Regions from separate parts of the Homo sapiens genome. Here all the other regions are linked to region 3. Evidence: promoter capture Hi-C in 16 types of primary human blood cells and fetal thymus (Javierre and others, 2016). All regions are on one chromosome and are shown on one strand. The core of a region is centred on a gene start or on the middle of the fragment in contact, and the rest is flanking DNA. Distances in the headings are between cores, read along the strand shown. Region 1 overlaps TCF12 (transcription factor 12). Region 2 holds the start of DNAAF4-CCPG1 (DNAAF4-CCPG1 readthrough (NMD candidate)). Region 3 holds the start of RFX7 (regulatory factor X7).

Region 1 (3,650 bases), core at 978-3,477, 680 kb before region 3:
TTTACTTCCCATCAAAATAATAAATTTCTCCACTGTTTTTTTTTTTTTGAGACAGAGTCTCCCTCTGTCACCCAGGCTGGAGTGCCGTGGCACAATCTCGGCTCACTGTAACCTCTGCCTCCTGGGTTCAAGCAATTCTCCTGCCTCAGCCTCCCCAGTAGCTGGGACTACAGGCATGAGCCACAACACCTGGCTAATTCTGTGTATTTTTGGTAGAGACAGGGTTTTGCTACGTTGGCCAGGCTGGTCTCCAACTCCTGGCCTCAAGTGATCTGCCTGCCTCAGCCTCCCAAAACGCTGTGATTACAGGCGTGAGCCACCACGCCAACGAAATGTCTCCACTTTTTCTGAGCAATGACCTTCTCCATTTCCCATCTTCCCAAAAACTGCTAGAAGAATGCATAGGTAAATACTAAATAGTTAACTGATAAAAATGAGATACTTATGGCACAACTATTTAACAAAGCAGACTGTCATTCATTAGTCTTTTGAATATATTTAAGTGTTTGTCTTCTCATTATCTTCCCTAAACACAAACAATTTAGATTTGCAATTTCAACATTCCCATCCATAAACATACTTTCAAGTGATACCCAAAAGCAGTCTTATTAAATGATCTTTTAAAAAGGCATTCCACACATTGTCCACAAATAGCACTTCTTTTTCTTTTTCAGGAGAGCCTTTCTAATAGTGCTACTTTTACTTTCTTTCAGCAAGATTACCCAAGTCTTTGACAACACTAGGCAGACAATGACATTCCAGGAAAAGACTACCAATTGTTTAAGAGCAGAAAAGACTATATGGCTTTAATAAGACAGCATTGTTTATTGCCCAATTAAGTATAAAATTTGAAAGTTGTTTATAGTCAAGGTTGGATATCTTCATCTTTATCTTCTCATTTCAAAAGGCTTGTTTAAAAACTCAAAGATATAGCAAAGGATACCTTGAAGACAGAAACTTGAATTTGTGTTTAAATGGCTAATGAAAACAAAAACAGTAATTGTAGGTATGCCTCACTATATATAATAAACAAGCCCCTAAAATGTTGTGATCTAATCAAATTGTTTTTCAAATCCATTATAAGCAATGACTACGGGGTTGGGGCGGGGGGGTGGGGGGGCGGTGGACACCATTTGTTTGTGGTTTTTTTTTGTTTTTGGAGACAGAGTCTCATTCTGTTGCCAAGACTGGAGTACACTGGCTGCGCCATCTCAGGTCACTGCAACCTCTGCCTCCCAGGTTCAAGCAATTCTCCCACCCCAGCCTCCTGAGTAGCTGGGATTACAGGTGCCCACCATCACACCCAGCAAGTTTTTGTATTATTAGTAGAAATAGGGTTTCACCATGTTGGCCAGGCTGGTCTCAAACTCCTGACCTCATGTGATCCACCCACCTCGGCCTCCCAAAGTGCTGGGATTACAGGCATGAGCCACCACACCCGACCTTGTTTTTCAATTGTTCAGGAATTGTCCTGAAAAGTATACAATACTCATGGTTGTAATCTTGTCTCTAATTTTTATGTTTTCCAAGTATGAGTTTTCATAAACAGGTTTTCTCTAAAAGACTCCCTTGCTACCTTTTACCTTAAATGAGCAACTTAATAGCAGACCATATTTGTCCTAAAATATATTTTTCCCCACACACCTGCTGACTCTGTGGTTACTCTCATTAATAACTACAGCTTACCTGAAACAAATGTCTAACATGGCTCAATATTAACAAGTATGTATTTACTACAAATTATAGCTATTATAAATTTCAACACTAATATGTACATAATATGAACCACACCCTACTCATAACCTTAAAATACCTTAAGTGAAAGGTCAAACCTGGTTTCCTCTCTAAAATCACCATTCCTATTTCTATCACAGTTCAGTAAAAACCTACAGTGGTACAATTTTGGTTTTCTCTTGATTTTGTTCTTGATATGTTCAAGTAATGCTACAGCAATTTGAAAAGCTTACTCCACGTTTAACAGAGAAAGAAGGCATTTAGTAATCTTACCATTTTTTTAATTACTTGAAAAGTGGATGCAGTTACAAAAGGCCAACACCAAGAATTCCTGTGGTGACAGAACAGTTTTTGCATCTTGACTGTATCACTATCAATAACCTAGTTGTGATACTGTACTAATTTTTCAAGGTGCTATTATTGCAGGAAACTGGGTAAAGGGTATATAGAATCTCTGTATAGTTTCTTACAACTGCATATGAATCTACAACTATCTAAAAATAGAAATACTGAAGAGTAATTTAATGAGAATTCATTTTTCTGGCCCTATGTCAATATTTTCAAAAAGCCTGTAAGTACATCTAAAAATAACCCCCCGCCCCACAAAAAAAGATCAGTAACTGAAAAATGAAAAACTGTATTCCTTTTTAAAAATTAAGAGCCAGAAAATACTTCCTACAATTATCTCTGAAAATTTTGGGCAAAAAGAAACTATACTGTTACAAACGTCTGAATTCAATAAGAAAAAGTGAAGCTTTACTTAATAGTTAAAATGACATTCTAGATAGAAACACCAGAGAGATGCTCAATATCTACAGATGGCTTACAAAATGACAACATCCCTTACTACTTGGATTCAAAAACAAAGGAAATTTTCAGATATCATACAAACAATCTACTAAAAACTAACCCAAAATCACAATCTAGACATACACACTCAAACCCCGAAGTTGAGGACATGGATTTAAACATCTGAACCATTTCCATTTTGTCAATCCTTTTAACCAACTTTCCTTCTATACACTGCCCTTTGTTTCTATACACTGCCCTAATTAGAGTGCCTGACCTTTCACTCCTACAGAAAGAAAAGTTTCTCTCAAGGTCACTTTAGGAACACTTCACAGAGCCTATCATACCAAGTGAACAAATTCACTCTCACCATAACGTGAAGAAAATTTTAACACCCTGATGAAGGAATAACATAACAGATCCTCAAGACAAATTAGTAGTAGTAAACACACCTTTATCTTTTCCAGAGTGACTTCCGACACTCATAAATAACTCAGCCATGATGAGTTATTTGTTTTGCTTCAGGAATAAGATTAAAGATAACATCACATGCTATAGTATATATTCTTTCAGCTAAAAAAGCTTCTGAAAGTATTATATATCGTTTCTCAAAAACAGCCCACTGTGAAATTGAGTCTTCCTCAAAAAGGACAAATAAGAAAGGAAATTACAATACCTGACTATAAACTCTAGTTTTCATAAGTCAAATGGCATGTAGTTTTTATAAATGTTACTCCAAAGACAAAACAGAAAACAAACAAAAAACCCTAATCTTTACTACAGCAGCTCTTCAAAAGGAAAGTCAGATCTTTAGCTCCTTAATAGCTGCAAATACATAGGCATTAGAGTGTATTACATAATATCCTTTGAAATCAGGGCAGAAGGTTATTCAAATGTCAATAAGGTATATAAATATAAAATATATAAGTAAAATAATGTTACTATACCAATTTCTTTTAGACATTCCCTTTAAGAACTGGCCACAGAAAAATTATATCTACCAGTACATCTTGATTTGAAAAAAAATCACATGGCATTTTCTCTTCCCCAAATTCAAATCCATTCACTAATTAAAAGTCACAGCTTTTTTATTACAATTTTTTGTAGCATTTAAAACAAAACACACA
Region 2 (3,963 bases), core at 515-3,014, 740 kb after region 3:
TTACAGGCATGAGCCACCACGCCCGGCCAACTTGACAAGTTTTTAAGGTATAATTCATTCAGAGTCTAAAAGTTTAGTAGGATCATGGTAGTCAGGAGAATAATTTCACTGCAGAGGTGTGTATGTGTTTAGCAAAGTGATTGCTAACAGATTTTCCTGAAATCCCCGACAGCACAAAGTATCCTTTACATTATTATCTTTCATGCATATAAAATCTCACATATTTCTGTATAGTGGGAGAACCTGGACTTTAACATTTTATATGAAAGAAATGCATAAACCCTGTCTTTAGAAGATAATGTAAGATTTGGAAACAATATGGTAAAAGTAGGAATAGAACAAAAGGGGGAAAATGACAAAAGAAATTTTTTTAAAAAAGTCCATGGGATTCGTGGGTTTCTCAGCTTAAAGGGACAAGGGAAAGCAAGTCTAGGATGACTCCCAGTATTCAAAGTTACCAGAAGCTTGAGATGATGAACTGCTAAGGTAGTGAGTGTGCCCTATTTTGGGGAAAAGATGGTTTTCTCTTCAAGTCTGTTGCTCCTTATCTTTCCTCAATGAATTTCTAAGGAGCATTGAAATTTGTGTGAAAGAAAGGCTTCCAAAAGTAAATAAGTTTAAAATCCAGGGTTTTGTATTATACTTTCAGATTTCCACAAAGGCCCAGTTTCTCTGTTTTTTTTTTAAAGTTAAAAAAAAGTTGAAAATCAAAAGCCCCAAGTGGGAAGTAATTTGTGTGTATCTAAATATTGTATACATTCACTGTTTTATCCCAGCAATTTATAAACTGGGTGTGCAGAAAGCAGCCTGGAGCAAAAACATTGTAATGGGAGTTAAGAGATCAGGATTTTAATGATGGTCTGCTACTAATCTATACGAAAATGGTTTGTGTATAGGTTTCAGATTCCTTAAATATGTAGAATAAGACTACATAATCTTCAAGCTTCTCTGCAGCACTTAAGTTCAGATTCTACTTAAGCACTTACGGAATGTGTCAGTGTAATTCCAATTTACCCTATTCCAGATTTGTAGCAAAGCATTTGTCAGATGAATCATAGGGTGGTTTCTCTTCAGTTTTCAAACTTTGGAGCAAAACCTATATAGGTGCTTTTGGCGGCCTTACAGTTAATAGGATTTGCAGGATACAATAGTTTTAGACAAGCTCCTGGTATGTGTTGTGAACAAACGTTTTCTGAAGAGGAATTTGGAGCAAAGCAACTATTTCAGGGAACAGTTTGCAAACTGGGGAGTTGAAGCCTTAGGTGTAAAACAAAGGTGCATTCCAGAGAACAAAGGGAGGGTTTGGGTTTTACAGCAAAAGTTTCTGCCCAGGTTCCCAGTCAGGTTCGTTTATACAAATGAACGATTGAACCGCACTTAGTTCTGATTGGTTGATACAGCTGAGCCCTGATTGGTTGAGGCAGGTGAGCCCTATAAGACCCAACACTCAACAGAGGTGTGGGTTTGGGGAGAACGCAGAGTCCATGTGTGACCTCTAGTAGGTAAATGACCACGTGTCTCTATTTTAAATTTAGACCCAGTTAGCCGCTCTGGATGTTGACGGATTGGCTCTTTCAGGTTCACATTTGTTCACAGTCTGTATGACCAAGAAATTTGCAAAACAGAACAACTAGCGCTAACTCTTAATAGCCTCAGTCAGAATAAACAGACAAGACACTGCACCAAGGGCGTATGGGCATTGCACCTGCTCCTCATGGGCTGCTTTCCCGAGCCTTATGCCCACAGCCCTCCTTAGCATTATCGCATTATGAGGCTGGAAGTGCTTTTTTTTTTCTTTCTTTCTTTTTCTTTTCTTTTTTTTTTTTTGAGACGGAGTTTCGCTCTTGTTTCCCAGGCTGGAGTGCAATGGCGCGATTTCGGCTCACTGCGACCCCTGCCTCCCGGGTTCAAGCGATTCTGCTGCCTCAGCCTCAGCCTCCAGAGTAGCTGAGATTACAGGCATGCACCACCACGCCCGGCTAATTTTGTATTTTTAGTAGAGGCGGGGTTTCTCCATGTTGGTCAGGCTGGTCTCGAACTCCCAACCTCAGGTGATCCGCCCGCCTCGGCCTCCCAAAGTTCTGGGATTACAGGCGTGAGCTAGCGCGCCCGACCCACAGAGTGCTTTTTTTTTTTTTTTTTTTTCTCAAGCAGAGGGTATGGGTCTACTTCTTTGAACATTCGCTCAGATCGTAAGGTAACCCCAAGAATCGGCATCACTCTCTGGTCTGGGCGCCTGGATAGTCACGCATGGAGTCCGCGAGGTGCTGGCGCCGGAGCACGCTGGGAACGCCGGGCTCCCGGCCGGCCTGACCCGGAAGGGCTGGCGCATGGTAACCCCAGCTTCCCTAGCAACCAAGCAGGCGCAAGAAGCAACCAGCCGCGCTATCCGCTCCCGTTGCTACCGGAATGCCTCTTCAGGTTAGCGATTACAGCTGGCAGCAGACGAAGACTGCGGTCTTTCTGTCTCTGCCCCTCAAAGGCGTGTGCGTCAGAGACACGGACGTGTTCTGCACGGAAAACTATCTGAAGGTAAGAATGCAAGTCTTGCCTGCCGGTCTCCGGGGGTGTGGTCCGAAGCTTCTGCAAGAGCGCAGCTGGGCACGAGCAACAGGCTCATCTTTGCCGATAAACGTCCTAAATTTTTAATCCTATTAAAAAAATGAATCCCATACAGGTAACACACCATCTGTAGACAGATAATCAGATCAGAGACTACTTTTATCCAGGGCTTCCTCATATGCCTTGCTAATCTTTCACTACCTGGCATAAATTTAGTGGGCCTTTTAGAAAGTTATTTTACCTTTTTCACGTGTTTCTTAATACGCGTGCTTAATTTGTGTAACTAACTTAGTTTCTGTTTTCACCCTTCTGCATAGGTCAACTTTCCTCCATTTTTATTTGAGGCATTTCTTTATGCTCCCATAGACGATGAGAGCAGCAAAGCAAAGATTGGGAATGACACCATTGTCTTCACCTTGTATAAAAAAGAAGCGGCCATGTGGGAGACCCTTTCTGTGACGGGTGGTAAGTTCTTTATTAAAAGATGTTCATCTGGTTGTACCTTTTCGGTTTCAGACCTTTTAAAAAATTTTATTTTGAAGCACCTATATTGTGTAGGGGAAGATAGATTTTTTTTTTTTAAGAGTCTTGCTCTGTCGCCCAGGCTGGAGTGCAGTGACATGATCTCGGCTTACTGCAACCTCTGCCCCCGGGGTTCAAGGGATTCTCCTACCTCAGCCTCTCAAGTAGCTGGGATTATAGGTGTCCGCCACCACGCCCGGCTAAATTTTTTTGTATTTTTGGTAGAGCGTTTTGCCATGTTGGCCAGGCTGGTCTCACACTCCTGACCGGTCATTAAGTGATCCACCCGCCTTGACCTCCCAAAGTGCTGGGATTACGGGTGCGAGCCACCACACCCGGCCAGATAGACTTTCCTTTTACTCTCCAAGGTTCAATAGCTGGGTCTATAAAATAAACTAACAACAGAAGGATTGACAGAAGAAAATGTATAGAAATTTATGAATTTTTAATATTAGTGCTTGAGGGCATCACAGGGAAAAAAGTGAATACCCCCCAAGCGGTGAGATTTGAGAGTTTAGGGACTGTCTTAATAGGGGAAGGGGGAGGGGATGTAGGCCGCTTAGAACAGGAAATGATTTTTAGGAAAGATGAATGGATCCTTAGAAGAATAGATAGGAAATGTGATAGCTTTTAACAAAATTTGTCAGAGTGTGGTGTTGACTTGTAGTTTCCTTTTCTGGGAGAATAGTCAATATTCCCTGGTTAATGAAACTCCAGGGGAAGAGATTTATGACACTTGGGTTCCTTTGGAAAATCTGTTTTTAGGCAGATAAGAGGAGTTCTGGCAAAACCTCTCCCTGCATTTGCTGCTTTCAAGTGCCTTTAACTCAAAATGATCGCTATATGAAAGCAGCATATTTTGGGGTGGCATATCCTGAA
Region 3 (3,922 bases), core at 800-3,299:
CTTGGGGAACTTGGCAACTTTCCTCAACGTGATATAGGGCATACACACACACACGTATATATATACCTACATTCAAGATTTTTCAGCGTAATTCCAGTTTCAGCATAGCTTGCAGGCTCTGGAATTAAACTTCCAGGACTCAAATTTTGGCTCCTGCATTTACTAATTGGGTAATTTTAAGAATGTTAATTAACCTAAGCTTCCATTTCATCTGTAACAGAGGGAGACTAATAATACCTACATTATACACTCTTGGGGAGGAATAACTATGATAATGTATGGAAAGTGCTAGTCTGGCACACAAAGTGTTCAACAAACATTAGCTATTTTTATCCTTCAAAGCTTCTGTCTAGTGCACACCATGTCTATCAATTAGGTCCACAAAAATACTGTCTTTACACACCCACATGAAGATATGTATGCAAAATGAATGTCGTAAACCACCTATAGTTTCCTAAAGTGGCTAAGCTAATAGAGACCTTAGAGTATGGAAAAGGGGGCTCATTTGTGTGATGCAACTCGTGCAATGGGTAGTTGGAGCACAGCGTAATCCAAGAGGCCCCGGGGGCGGGGGGGCGGCTTATTTTGCACACAGGTGTTCTTCCTCCCTGCACCCCCACCCTCAACCCTCACCACGTGCAAGCATTCAGTGTGAGTCTGGGCCTTAAGTCTGTGGGCCAGGAGAGAGGGCACAGTGGACAAAAGCAAGAGGGTTTCAGGCCAAGGCAGGGAACTGAGAACTCAAAGGCCAGGCAACCCAAGCCAATCAGATTCACCATCCACTAGGAGTCTAAAAGGTGGCAGAGCCCCACAGCCCAAAGTCCACACACAGCAGGAAAGTGGCCAGAGGATCTAACAGGTAGAAACCTGATAGACACTCTATCAGAAAAGTTAAAGCTGAAGGGCTCATAACACCCACGGGCCCAAAGAAAGGTCAGTGTGAGCTGAACAGCTGTTCCATTTGGTGCCAGAGGCCTTGGCTGTTGTATTCTACATCCACGCAGCCTCCCTGATCAGCCCCACCTAGAAAAGCCAATTCTTCTGCTCTTAAAGGAGACTGACTTATTTGTGGCAAAGCTATCATTTAGGTATGAATGGGAAGGGGGGGAATGGTGCGGAGTCTGCGGGGGGAGGGCGGGTGTTCAACGGGCTCCAAAGGAAGGAGCTCGTGGCTGACGCCTGAGCCTCCATGTTGTGAGTACTACATGCGTTTCTTTCAGAGGCAGGCAGTGGCCTTGGCTGCAGGGACCCTGACAAGCCGCGACTTGAGCTATGCTTTAGAGCCTGGGTGGAATTGGGAGCGGTATAAAGGAGGGAGGGCATTCCTGGAAAGGGGGTGGGGTGGGGTGGGGAGGTGGAGGGGAACAGCATGAGCAAAGGCACGAAGGAAGAATGAATCTGCTGCGCGTTGAGGATGGCATGGAGACTTCCCTGATTGGAGCCGGGAGTTCTTGCAGGGGGATGGAGGCCGCTATGATTGGATAGTTAAAGTGGGGCCAGATTTGGAGGGCTTTGAATGCCCGACCGAGGAGCACTCAACCCAGCTCCTGACTCGCGATTTCCGTTCAAGACCGAATTACCTAAAGGGTGGTTAATTCCAACGGGTGTTCTTCTTTGGGGGCTTCTGAAAAGTCAGTTTATCGTCTTACCTGCTTCAGTTCTCTTCATTTACTCAGGGAGGAAGTAATCCTCACATGCATGTGCAGGGGAAGGGGGATAATGTTGATTTCTCTTTACTTGCTTTGAAGATGCCTCCCCCGCCCAAATCCCATTTCCACGCCAAATATTATTAAATTTGGTTTCTCCTCCTCCTCCTCACGCAAGTTCTCTTTCTCTCGCCAGCACCTCCCCCACGTTTTCCTGCTCTCCACCAGCCGGGCCGGACTCCTCCCGGCCCCCAGCGGCGCGCTTCCCTGGCCCGCTGGCCCGCGCCGCCCTCCGCGCCGTGCGCCCCCATCCCGGCCCGTCGCGCCCGCGGCCCGCACACCCTGGTCCACGCCCCCCGGCGGAGCGGTAGGTGTTGTGCGGTCTGCGCCGGGCCGCAGTGCGGCTGCGCGCACTGGGCTGCCTCCGGGGCTGGCAGGGCAGCGGCGGCCGCGGCGGCGGCGGGGCCGGGAGCGAGCGGCGGCGGCGGCGGCGGCGTGGGGAGTGGCGTGGAGCGGTGCCTGGGGCTGCAGCAGCACGGGGACCCGGCAGTAGAAAGCCCCGGGGACAAGGAAGGAAGGCTTGGCCGCCAAATCCCTGAGCAACCGTTCTTCTTGGATTTTGGGGGGAGCCTGCCCCCCCCACTTCGTCTTCAAACGCCCCCATCTCACCCCCCCACAGCCCCGGCCGCTGACGGGAGGAGGCGGCGGCGCCAGCGGGGGGCTGAGGGGCGCCGCCATGCCTCTCCCGCGGTGAAGCGCCCCGGCCGTGAGGAGCCGCTGGTCTCCCCGGTGATGTTCCCCAGGCGGCAGGCGAAAGCGACTCACTCGAGCCCTGGGGTAAAGGCCTAGCTTATCCAGCTTCCTTCCTCCTCCTCCTCCTCTTCCCCTCCCCCTCCCCCTCCTCCTCTCCCCCCTTCGTCCTCCCCTCCCGGTCTCTTCCCTCACCCTTCCCCGCGCCCCCATCTTTCCCTCCCTCCCTCCCACCCCTCTGCAGCGATGGCAGAGGAACAACAACAGCCGCCACCACAGCAGCCTGATGCCCATCAGCAGCTTCCCCCCAGCGCCCCCAACTCGGGGGTGGCCCTGCCAGCCCTTGTGCCCGGGCTGCCAGGGACAGAGGCCAGCGCGCTGCAACACAAGATCAAGAACTCCATCTGGTAAGAGGATCCTCCATCGCTCGCGTGAAAAAGCCCAGGCACATTTCTGCTGCAAAGTGGGTGGGGGGCGGCGGGCGGGGGGAGCGGAGGAGGAGGCTGATGCATTCATTGAATGTGGCTTTCCCCAGTCGGGTGCACATTTGTAGGATCTCTGGAGGTGTGCGGACTTTGCATCAATCAGCCCCTGTCTTCTTAGCTAAAAAATGCTTTTACCCCTTCCTCAATTGTGAGTGCAGATAAACAAGTTTTTTGGTTTTATTTTTTCACTCATTGTAACAGAAATATGGGTCGAAATTAAGTCATATTGCATGATGGTGGCATGAATTTGGAACTGGAGAATGTGAAATGTGTTTACTCCTTTTTGCAGCCATAGAAGGAGGAAGAAGTGTATTGTGAATTTTCACCAAACAGATACTGTGCGTAAGAATATTAATATGCAGCACAAAACCTAATGTGTCTCTTCCTTTCAGTTGGGTTAGCTGCTATTTCTGAATGTTTTTGCCTCCCTTATCCTAATATTAAATTTCTTTTTCAGGGAGTTTATTCTTTGCATTGATTGTGAAGAAAGTGCTTTTTTAGTATAAAATATTTTAAGATGGTAGTTTACAACAAAGTGGTTTTTTTTTAAATTAAAATATAGGGAATCAAATGTCTTGCCATTTGTATGTCTTTTTAAAAGAAACCATTGATGGAATATCTTTCGCTATTTTACTTTCTTGTATGAAAATTTCCAATATTTCAGCATTAAACTCCTAAAGTCTAGTGGGAATCTTTTAATAATTAAATACACTAAGTCCATCCACTGTTAGAGCCATTGCAATATTCTTTGAACATGAACTTGCATTGTTTTGTAGGATGCTTCATTAACTGCCTTTTTTAAGTGTAGCAATATTTTTTAAATGGAAAGTAATATTTGGAATTTGGTCTAAGATTGCTTTTAATAGAAGTTTAAAAAGAATTTTATATGGTATTTTAAAAAGCCTTGATTTTGAAAATGGAAATGAAATCTTTGCAGGGCCATCATTGAATATGAGTACTAAAATATCAAAACTCATTTTCTCATTTTGAAAACATATCGTAAAGCAACTGGCGTTGCATGAACAGTATTTGCACATTTTT

What was found. Contacts are between HindIII fragments. The CHiCAGO score rates a contact against its expected background, and 5 or more counts as called.
Region 1: a fragment that was not itself captured here is called in contact with the fragment with the promoter of RFX7 in region 3 in 1 of 17 cell types (fetal thymus); the score reaches 7.7 in fetal thymus.
Region 2: a contact is called between a fragment that was not itself captured here and the fragment with the promoter of RFX7 in region 3, in 1 of 17 cell types (naive CD8 T cells). The highest score is 5.4, in naive CD8 T cells.

The regions. Positions count from the first base shown.
Region 1 is chr15:56,922,711-56,926,360 of GRCh38, reverse strand. The region is part of intron 3 of TCF12 (transcription factor 12); the gene reads right to left. Among named protein-coding and RNA genes, the nearest start is that of TCF12, 5.9 kb to the right of the region's middle. The HindIII fragment of the contact is 526 bases long and covers 1,965-2,490 here.
Region 2 is chr15:55,496,776-55,500,738 of GRCh38, reverse strand. It overlaps DNAAF4 (dynein axonemal assembly factor 4), which reads left to right. Exons shown (of 10, transcript NM_130810.4): 2 at 2,155-2,532; 3 at 2,880-3,027. The coding sequence starts at 2,410. It overlaps DNAAF4-CCPG1 (DNAAF4-CCPG1 readthrough (NMD candidate)), which reads left to right and starts at 2,155. Exons shown (of 16, transcript NR_037923.1): 1 at 2,155-2,532; 2 at 2,880-3,027. The HindIII fragment of the contact is 1,637 bases long and covers 946-2,582 here.
Region 3 is chr15:56,242,006-56,245,927 of GRCh38, reverse strand. RFX7 (regulatory factor X7) reads left to right here and starts at 2,049. Exons shown (of 10, transcript NM_022841.7): 1 at 2,049-2,483; 2 at 2,641-2,803. The coding sequence starts at 2,643. LOC124903569 (laforin-like) reads left to right here and starts at 1,110. Exons shown (of 3, transcript XM_047433428.1): 1 at 1,110-1,194; 2 at 1,749-1,945; 3 at 2,046-2,577. The coding sequence starts at 1,110. The coding sequence ends at 2,495. It also overlaps a transcript of TEX9 not described here. RefSeq lists enhancers at 140-785, 1,024-1,073, 786-1,431, 1,432-2,077 and silencers at 1,324-1,373, 1,864-2,153, 2,304-2,363, 2,454-2,523. The HindIII fragment of the contact is 5,292 bases long and covers 345-3,922 here.